Linked DNA regions of Homo sapiens: region 1 is linked to region 2. The links are contacts of gene promoters, found by promoter capture Hi-C in human tissues and cell types (Jung and others, 2019). All regions are on one chromosome and are shown on one strand. Each heading gives the region's core, a stretch centred on a gene start or on the middle of the fragment in contact. The rest is flanking DNA. Distances are from core to core; before and after follow the strand shown.

Region 1 (5,576 bases), core at 1,579-4,078, 110 kb after region 2:
GGGGGAAAATCCACCTCTGAACACACATCCCCACTGGAGAATCTGAAAATCCAGATCACAGGAGAAGGATTTAACCTTACCTAGAAATGAAACAGATTTAGGGAGGTGCAAGAAATATAAAAGTACAGTTAGCTTCAAGGGAAGAGCCTTAATGCACTCTCAGTCTCCAGCTCGAGCCCTGGGAAGCCATTGCTTTTATATCTCACAGGGGCCCTTGGGGAAGGCAGCCAGTGGAACTGGGGAGGGGTTGTGGGACAAAGGAAACTCCCAACTGAAATTGGTTGTGGTTTCGACTGGGCACACATTTTCTTGAGTGGAGTCCAGGGGATGAGCAAGAGCTGGATATGAGTGAGTGAGGGAGCACAGAAGCACAGGAGCTGCCACTGTCAGAGTGGGCAGATGGGAGGGGCGAGGGGCAAGGTCTGAGAGCTGTGCTTGCTTTCTCAGTGGGGTAGCTCATGGCCTGGGGCAAGGTCTGAGTGGGGCACTGCAAGAGCAAGACTAGTCTTTCCAACTACGTGGGAGCTGGGTGAGGCCTCTCGCTACCAACTATCCCCCACTTCCCTGGCAAACTACATGACATGGCAGAGGCAGTCATAATCCCCTCTGGACCTAACCCCATTGGCCTGAGAGACACTCCCCTATTCCCCACAGTGGCCATGGTAAGCCCTCCACAAGAAGAGTGTGAGCCTAGACCTGCCTAACCCTGCCTGGACCTGATGGTATTTCCCTACTTGCCCTCGTAGCCAAACACAAAACCCAGAAACTCTTGGAAGCTTTAAGGCCCTATCCATTGCCTGATAAATCAAAATACTTACCCTGGCCATCTTTGGGCAAGCCTAGAGAGCTTAGAGCCTCCTACTACTACAGCAGCTGTTGCTCTCCTGAAAGCAGCACCTCCTGGCTGGAGGCCAACCAACTCAGGTCATTACAACAACTCAGGACAGAATGACCTTGATCCCAGGAAGGAGAATACAACACCTAATTTTGCTGCCTGCAATATCTTGGCTAACCAGAGGTCCTGCGGGTGTCCACATGAAACCTCATCACTAGCATAACCGGCATTCAAGAAAGTCAGCACACTAAACATATCTACAACCAAAGACTCTCACAGAGTGGGCACTGGTATCCACGGCTGGAAGACCTGAAGACAGGTCACATCATAGGACTCTGCAGACATCTTCCAGCACAAGCTCAGAGCCTGGTATCCCCACTGGGTGGCTAGACCCAGAAGAGCAATAATAATGAGAAGGAATCAGAAAAGTAATTCTAGTACTATGACGAAACAGGGTTCTATAATATTCCCAAAAGATCACATCAGCTCTTCAGCAATGGATCCAAACCAAGAAGAAATCTCTGAATGGCCAGATAAAGAATTCAGAAGGTTGATTATTAAAGCTACTCAAGGAGATACCAGAGAAAGGTGAAAACCAACTTAAGGAACTTTAAAAAAAAATACAGGATATGGATGAAAAATTCTCCAGAGAAATAGATGTAAAGAAAAAAACAATCACAACTTGTGGAAATGAAAGACACACTTAGAGAAATACAAAATGCAGTGGAAAGTTTCAGCAATAGACTAGAGCAAGTAGAAGAACTTTACAGCTTGAAGACAAGGCTTTCAAATTAACCCAATCAGAAAAAGACAAAGAAAAAAAGAATTTAAAAACGAACAAAGCTTCTAAGAAATTTGGGATGTTCAATGGCCAAATCTAAGAATACTTGGCGTTCCTGAGGAAGAATCAAAATCTAAAAGTTTGGAAAACTTACTTGAAGGAATAATTGAGGAAAACTTCCCTGGCCTTGCTAGAGATTTAGACCTCCAAATACAAGAAGCTCAAAGAACACCTGGAAAATTCATCATAGAAAGATAATCACCTAGGCACATAGTCATCAGGTTATCTAAAGTCAAGATGAAGGAAAGAATCTTAAGAGCTTTGAGACAAAAGCATCAGATAATCTATAGGAAAACATATCAGATTAACAACAGACTTCTCAGCAGAAACCTTATAAGCCAGAAGGGATGGAGGTCCCATCTTCAACCTCCTGAAACAAAATAATTGTGTGTCAAGGATTTTGTATCCAGTGAAACTAAGCTTTATAAATGAAGGAGAGATAGTCTTTTTCAGACAAACAAATGCTGAGAGAATTTGCCCAACTAAGCCAGCACTATAAGAAATGCTAAAAGGAGTTCTAAATCTTGAAACAAAACCTTGACATACACCAAAATAGAACCTACTTAAAGCATAAATCTCACAGGGCCTATAAAACAATAATACAATGGAAATAACCACAAGGTATTAAGGCAACAACTAACATAATGGATAGAACAGTACCTCACATCTCAATACTAACATTGAATGTAAATGGCCTAAATGCTCCACTTAAAAGGTATGGAATGGCTGAAGGGATAAAAATCCACCAACCAAGTATCTGCTGTCTTCAAGATACTCACCCAACACATAAGGACTCACATAAGCTTAAGGGGTGACAAAAGATATTCCACGCAAATAGAAGCCAAAAGAGAGTAGAAGTAGCTATTCCTATATCAGACAAAACTGACTTTTAAGCAGCAACAGTGAAAAAAGACAAAGAAGGACATTGTATAATGATAAAAGGAATAGTCCAACAGGAAAATATCACAGGCATATATATATATATATATATATATATATATATACATATATATATACACACACATACACATATATGTATATGTAGCTATACACATATACATATATATTTTGTAGCTATACGTGTGTGTGTGTGTGTGTGTGTGTGTGTGTGTGTGTATATGTAAAACACCAGAACTCCCAAATTCATAAAACAATTACTACTGGACCTAAGAAATGAGATAGATGGCAACATAATAATGTGGGAGACTTCAATACTTCACTGACAGCACTAGACAGGTCATTAAGACAGAAAGTCAACAAAGTAAATGTTTAAAATGCAAAACGAAATTACCTAGATGGTAAAACTGGCCTGAAGGCACATTTCTTTCTCAACATTGTAAAGGGCTCACATGTTCTGGGGTCACCGGGAAGGGTAAGCATTCTCTCAAATATATTTTTTCAGATTTAGTGGATGTGTTTGCTTGAGTTGCTGCATGCTGGGGGACATGTGAGGTCAGACTTAACTCTTACTTGCGTCTTTGAGTTCTTGGTGGTGTTTTGCCCTTGTTGAGTTCCTGTAGTTGTACACCACAGGATGCAGGGTAGGGGTGGCCTGGGAGTTTTTACCTCTGTTTTGGAAGTTAATTCTACCCTGTTTGTTAAACACTTTCCACTTCCACACACTGAGTGACTGGGCGGGGAAGGTCTTGAGGAATGAGCTAAGACCAATTTCATCCACCGCCAATTCATGCCCTGCTCCAGAGGGAGCTGGCTGGCTGTGCTTTCTCATTCTTGGCAGGGGAACACAGTCATGTTTGTCCTGCAATGCCAGGGGAGCCCCAGGCCTAGAACAATGGTGAGTGATTTATTTGGTAAAGTGTATTTGAGTTCCAGAGTGTTGCTAAGCATGTTAAATAGCTGTTATCTTTGCTCAGTCCCAGCCAGTAGTTTCTGGATGCATCCAGGAGGAATTCCACATAGTTTACATGACTTTTCAAGGAGCTAGTTTAGCTTTCCTTTCAGTCTTCCTAACTCTGGGATGATGGTCACTGTGCTTCCCAACCTTTTAGCTGTGGGCAATCAATGTTATGTAAACTAAAAGATTACATTTAACGATTCAAAAGATCAAAAATTTAAAAGATTAATCACAGATGAGCCCTAACCCCCTCAATATCAGAATCATATTTCTGTATGTTCTAATACAACATGTGGATGTCATATCTAAACATCTAAATTGGTGAGATGTCCTATCTGAATGTACCACAGGGCATGGGGCCGCCTTTAGGGAGGACTCTTTTATTCTCTGTGGCAAAATATTACTCCAAATCCCAGCACCCACTTTCTAGTCCATACCATGGCTATGAAAATAATCACGAACTAAACAAATTCTTCCCTTGGAGAATGAGGTTTCAGTAAATTCCAAAGAGTCAGGAAGCATTTGTTTCTCCAACATGAATCATACACAGGCCAGAAGTTGATTTTATACCCTGTCAAACTCGGGAATAAATTTTGTGTGTTTCTTGTAAAACGAAACTGTGCTCGTAATTCATATGTTATTTTGTAGCTTTCTGTTTGCAATTACAGTATGTCATAAGCATTTTCATATCTCACTAAATATCATTTTTAATGGTTGCAGAGTAATCCTTTGAATTTGGTACCATAATTGATTTATCCAAAGCATTATTATTGGATGTTTGGAATAACTATGTCTTAATACAACTTATTAATTCATTTTCTCAACATTCAAGAAGCATCCACCATGTGCCAGGTCTTCAGGGATAAGTAAGATAGCCCTGTCCCTTAAGGAGCTCTCAGTCCAGGGGGAGGTCCTTGTGATCCACTGTGTTAGAGTGAGTAGAACCCACAGGCCAGACTTATTTAATAAGGGGCTACTCTCCCTAAAACCTGCCGCCCTCTCTCTAACCCCAAAGTGCTCAGAATCTGAGCTGTACCTGTGGGAGCAGGGGGTCTCATGTTTGGCCAGAGGCTAGTAGTTTCCTCTTCTTTGCTACCTTCTTCTAGGGTAGTGATTCTCAGCTCCTCTCCATGCTGGTAGCAGCTGATAGATTTAAAAAATACCAATGCCATGGCTGATCAATTATCACCAAGAATGGAGTCTGAGCAGTGCTGTGCTGGTAAATATTTAATAATCAGTAATCCACAAAAAGTATGCGTAATTATACATGTACATAAGTTTGTTATATATCTAGCGATACAAAGAATGTGTAGGACACAATTGACAAATAATTAAAAATATGCAGGACTCTAATGTAAATTCCGTAATAATAATAGATTCTTTTATGTTGTTATTTATTTATTTTAACTTTTATTTTAGGTTCGGGGTACATGTACAGGTTTGTTATATGGTAAATTGCATGTCATGGGAGGTTGGGGTACAGGTTATTTTATCACCCAGATAATTAACATAGTACCTGGCAGGTAGTTTTTCCTCTTCCTCCTCTCACCTCCACCCTCAAGTAAGCCCTAATGTTTGTTACTTCTTTCTCTGTGTCCATGTGAACTCAATGTTTAGCTCCCACTTGTATGTGAGAACATGCGATATTTGGTTTTCTGTTCCTGCCTTAGTTTGCTTAGGATAATGGCCTCCAGCTCCATCCATGTTGTTGCAAAGTACATGATGTCATTCTTTTTTATGACTGCATAGTATTCTGTGGTATATGTGTACTACATTTTCTTTATCCAGTATACTGTCGAGGGGCACTTAGGTTGATTTCATGTGTTTGCTATTGTGAAAAGTGCTGCAACGAGCATAAACGTGCATGGGTCTTTATGGCAGAATGATTTCTATTCTTTTGGATATATACCCAATAATGGGATAGCTGGGTCAAAAGGTAATTCTGTTTTAAGTTTTTTTGAAAAGTGACCACACTGCTTTCCACAAGGGCTGAACTAATTTACATTCCCACCAGCAGTGTAAAAGCATTCCTTTTTCTCTGAAAC
Region 2 (5,452 bases), core at 2,115-4,614:
AGCGTCATGGTAACAATAATATTCCTACTAAATTAAGACACTAATGAAACAGAAATGTGATTGGAACAGGTCATGGTGCACACACAATTTGTTATTGCATATAAATAAATGTCAATATTCTATAAATTGACATTTATAGACGTACGTGACAAAATTTACAAAATGTTAAAACATATGCACAGATTTACTGAACTACAAACTTGTGATAAAGTTGTTCATGAATTTTTTTAAAAAACTGGACTTTCACATGTGTTTTCTCTTTTATTTTCCCATTATCAATCAATTTTAGTGGACATTGAGTCTCAGCATCCTAAAATGTTATTAAACAGTGTATTAAAACAGATCTATAAATTTTCGTTGAATTTTGTTCCAAATCAGTTGGAAATATTTAGTCAAGTTATTCAATGAATAGAGCAGCAAAACGTCAACTTTCAAAGCTTTTAGTGAATTATAAATATTGAAAACAAAGCTGGTATGCAGAAAAATTATAAAATGTATCAGAAAATGATCAAAATCAAATGCTGTACAAGAGTTAATTTTGAAATTCTAAAATGAGCTCTGGAACATTTCAGCTTGTGGGAAGAATCTTTTTAATTGGATAAATTCATGTTCTGTATGAAATGAGATGAAATTGAGAAAGCCAATGATTTTTTTTTTTTTTGCAGTATCTGAATCTGACAAAACATTCAAAACTTATAAGTAGGTACAACTTATTTGAAAGGTTTAATCTGGTTAAAAAAAAATACGTGTGGGCTGGGCACGGTGTGGCTCATGCCTGTAATCCCAGCACTTTGGGAGGCTGAGGCAGGTGGATCACATGAGGTCAGGAGTTCAAGACCAACCTGGCCAACATGGTGAAACTTTGTCTCTACTGAAAACACAAAAATTAGCCGGGCATGGTGGCAGGCGCCTGTAATCCCAGCTACACAGGAGGCTGAGGCAGGAGAATTGCTTGAACCTGGGAAGCGGAGGTTGTGGCGAGCCAAGATCGCACCACTACATTCCAAACTAAGGCACAAAGACAGCACCTGTGAAAATATCTGGGCTAAAATATTTATGCAATTCCATATGCAAAGAATTGGACTTGAGAACAGCCTCTGCCTGGCAGAATTTGCTGAGAGCTTATCACTCAGAACCTGCACAGGGAACATTTTCTCAATATATTATGGTTCAAGAGAAGAGTCAATTGAAGGTACTAATTTAAATTTGTTAATTGTAAAATTTGTGGAAAAAAGATTTCAGGCAATTATATGGAAAAATTAAAAATAACAAGACCCCACTGAAGAAAATACATTCTTGTGAAAAATGCCAGTGACAGGGTATCAGTCAGGTACAAGAAACTGTAGCATGTGAATATACAACAAGAACAATTATTTTGCTTATCTTATTTTTAAATGTTCAGTTGATTAACATAAACATGTTTTCTTTTGCTTTAATATTCATAGGTGTATGCATATATATTTAAAGACTTTTTTGAAAATAGTTTTTATCTAGAACTACTTTATAACACCATCAATATAATATAACCATTTTGTTGGATTTTTTCCCCTTCCTTCCTTCCTTCCCTTCATTCCCTCCTTCTCTCCTTCCCTCCCTACCCTCCTTCCCTCCTTCCTTCCTTCCTTCCTCCATCCCTCCCTTCCTCCCTCCCTTCTTCCCTCCCTCCCATCCTGCTTTCCTTCCTTCCTTCCTTCCCTTCCTTCTTTCCTTCCTTCCTTCTTTCCTCTCTCTTTCTACCTGTAAATACTAATTTTTGGGGGAAATAATTTTTGACTATTGGGGTGCCCCGGCAGTGTGCACACACATGGCCTGACCATCCCTCTCCTAGCTATCTCTGATGATGGCCAGGAAGCTGAGGTCTATGGTGACAGAGGCTGGCAGGTGGGAATCTGTAGAATTCCCCGGCGATTGGTTGGGATTTCTCAGGGAGAAAGGAGGCGAGGTCCTGACCTGTGGTGGAGGGGCTGGGGCATTGAGAGTTTGAGAAGAGATGGGAGGGTGTTGAGCACTGATATGGTTTGGCTGTGTCCCCACCCAAATCTCATCTTGAGTTGTAGCTCCCATAATTCTCTCGTGTTGTGTGAGGGACTTGGTGGGAGATAATTGAATCATGGGGATGGAGAACAAAGCCAAGCCAATATCTTGACTTTAGCTCAGCGAGACTGAGTTTGAACTCCTGATCTCCAGAACTGTAAGATAATAACTTGCATCGTTTTAAGCCACTCACTTTGTGATAATTAATTATAGCAGCCTTAGGAAACCAGCACGGGGGTGAGGCTGCACCCTGCCCAGGAAGCCAGAGACGACCAGCTACGCAGGGACTTTAGCTCGAACCTGATTAGGTCAGTGGACACCGCCCCCATCCCCAGGACGGGGAGGTGGCTGGGGCCACTGCAGCCACAGCATGTGTCTGCTCACATGGGGCTTATTTTTAAAGGGATTGTCCTCACCTGCTGCTGTCTGTGTTTATAAAGTTGGCTAGAGAGGAGAAATCTTCCTTTGCCAGTTTTCAGCTTTAGCTCTGATATTTGCCTGGAACATAGTAGGTGCTCAATAAACAATATCTCTGGATATTGTTAGTAATATGTGACCCTATTTGAAGAACTCAGAAGGGGCACTGGGCAAGTCTACAAGAGATGGCAATTCTGTAATTCCTGTGTGGTATTTTCTGAATTCTGCACATTTTAACCTAGGCTATGAGACAGTGTGACTTTCTTCAACAAATTAGTTAATTCTTCAAATTAACTCCAATTTCAACAGCATGGTGATGTTAAAGGCATTGGAAATTCAGCCACAGATGTTAAAGACCATCAGCACGGTCACATAGTAAGATGCTACTTTCAAGCCACGAATAACCCAACCAGTTATTGGTCTTATGAAATCTTGTAAGCCATCCCAGAGAGACTAATTTAATTTTTATGATTCAGAATTTGCAGGCTGTAACTGGTCAGTCCATGCGAACTCTGGTGGCTGCATTCAGCCCTGACATGTTTCACCTGACTTTGATATAAGGAGCTACTGGAACCTTCCTACGAGTTCTAAAACCTTTCCCTCCTCCTCCTGTTCTGGAAAAGCAATTAAGACCCAAACTAGGCATGAAATAAAAGTCTCTTAAATTGATTTAGAATTATTTTTAAAAAGTACCCTCACAGAAGTGGAAAATTTTGCCAATAGGTAGGTGTAAAAGGAAGTTTTTTGTTTTTCTAAGAGACACAGATTTCCTCTCATATTGTACTCTCATAAAAGAAAAAAAAAAGGTGGTCATTTACTTACTCAGGCAGAAAATGAAGGCGTTCACAACTGTAGTTGGGTTTTCTGATAGTGAGAGCTGCTTTTGGAGGAGTTTTCTCTTCTGGGAAGTGCTGTGGAGATGTGGTTGCTTTAAATTATATAACCTCCGCTCCAGTGATGTCATTGTGGGGATTGCCGCAAAAGTGAGTCTTTCGGGACTCACTCCAAGTGGATTTGGAAGGAAAAATCCACTCTCATTTCACTTTGCACTTTAGGGATGATAAGAGATTATTCAGCTACCATCTCCCCCTTTACTTTGGTACCATCTGCAGAGGTCTGCAATCCTGCCCAAGACCTGTATGTTGGCAAACACGCCCTAAAAACATGTTTTGACATCGCCAACTTGCCCCAAGGCTCGCAAAGTGTCAGTGAACATTGAGGGATGGCTTTTGGCCCCTTCACTATTGGCTTCTGAATGTCTGGGGCTCTGCAGCAGCTTTTGTGGGAGCCACTTCGAATGGCCTCTTTTGAATTTTGGTCATGAAAGATACATCGCCAAGAATCCATCAGAGTGGACCCATCACACAAACAGAGAGCTAGGAAAACGTTTGACTCATGCAATGTTCAGAGTTGAGTAAGACCAGATACATTTTTTCCTAATCCTCCTTGGCGTCTCTCAAATTATGTCTGCATGGGTCAAGTTGAACTACTCAAGACCTCATGTTTCAGACAGTAAGATATTTTTGGCTTTGAGAATCAGGTGACAAGATTCTCCAACTGAAGGCCCCTTACCTGTCAACTTACAAATTAAGATCTTTCCAGGCCACCCCCTACACGTAGGAGAACTCATTCATGCCAGAATTCAGGACTTCGAGTCTGACTTCTGGAAAGGTGACCCTCCAAATGTTTGGAGCAGAAGGTGTCACCTCTGTCTTTAGAATCTTGCCTTTTGCTTGTGTTCCCTTTTTCTGCTAGTGACATCTCAGCGGGAGCCAACTGCACTTCAAGTTTTCCTGCTGTCTTCTCCTGTTGCTGAAGACCTTAAAACTGTGGAAGTAGGTGGAACAAATAGCATTCTGAGGCTCAGTAGCGGATGTACATTTCAGGGAAGAAGCTGGAATTTGCCTTAGAGGATAGGATGGTCCCCTCCTATCAGGAGAGACCTCCTGGGTGGGATTTTTAATAAAAAAAAATTGTCAACAGGCAAGCATCTTCCATTACTCCCGGGATAGATCTGAACCGGAGGAAGGCTCCAAATCTTAGCCTTTCCTGTTACTTAGTAATGTAGGCGGGGGTCTCTCCAGCCCGTGGCTGGCTTATTCTCCCTTCAGTATGAGTTTAGACTATACTGTTTCTGAGAAGCGTTTGTTCTTAGGAGATGTCTCCCTGTTTATTCACCCAGGAGTGCGTATAAGGCCAGCTCTGCCACAAAGAGCACGTGCAGGTCTCATCTCTGCTTTGCCTCTTGCTGGAAGACAGTCTGTGAAGAGAGCTGGCCTGAGTGAGCTGGACTTCGGAGATGCATCTGGCTGCCTTGCCAAGGTGGTGGAGGGCGGAAAGGAAAGTTCTTTAAGAAGACCCACGTTTCCCCTTGTTGCTCATCTCCACGGGAAATGCGAGACAGGCCCGGGCTCAGGGGAGCAGAGGGTCTCCTACTGTCTCTGGGGCCAAGGGAGTGGGGCTGAGGGCAGGGGGAGGGGACCCCAAATCTGTGAAAGAAAAGCAGGTCCCTATAGTGTGGCAGAAGATAGCAGGGGACTAAGAAGTGGGTAGGCACTGAGGACCCTCTTCTGAGGCTTCGCTTGCCTTTTTTCTTTTTTTTTTGAGACTGAGTTTCGCTCTTGTTGCTCAGGCTGGAGTGCAATGGAGCGATCTCGGCTCACTGCAACCTTCGCCTCCTGGGTTCAAGCGATTCTCCTGCCTCAGCCTCCCGAGTAGCTGGGATTACAGGCACACACCACCACACCCAGCTAATTTTGTATTTTTAGTAGAGACGGGGTTTCTCCATGTTGGTTAGGCTGGTCTCAAACTCCCGACCTCAGGTGATCCACCCACCTTGGCCTCCCAAAGTGCTGGGATTACAGGCGTGAGACACCGTGCCCGGCCAATGCTTGCCTTTTCTGAATTTAGTTGTTTGTAATTCCCACAGCCTCTATAAGGTTTGGTTAAACCTTACAGTCTGATGTGTGCTGTGCTTGATGAAGTCCCCTGGGTACTTGGG

Evidence for each region. The method cuts DNA at HindIII sites, captures the fragments that hold promoters and counts their contacts. A contact is called where the count stands out against the background at its distance.
Region 1: a contact is called between a fragment that was not itself captured here and the fragment with the promoter of BDKRB1 in region 2, in 5 of the 25 tissues and cell types used here (adrenal gland, bladder, heart left ventricle and 2 more).

The regions. Positions count from the first base shown.
Region 1 is chr14:96,144,163-96,149,738 of GRCh38, reverse strand. No RefSeq gene overlaps it. Among named protein-coding and RNA genes, the nearest start is that of BDKRB2, 58 kb to the left of the region's middle. The HindIII fragment of the contact is 3,202 bases long and covers 1,228-4,429 here.
Region 2 is chr14:96,254,122-96,259,573 of GRCh38, reverse strand. It overlaps BDKRB1 (bradykinin receptor B1), which reads right to left and starts at 3,364. Exons shown (of 3, transcript NM_000710.4): 1 at 3,274-3,364. It overlaps BDKRB1-AS1 (BDKRB1 antisense RNA 1), which reads left to right. Exons shown (of 2, transcript XR_007064322.1): 2 at 1-343. The HindIII fragment of the contact is 16,224 bases long and covers 1-5,452 here.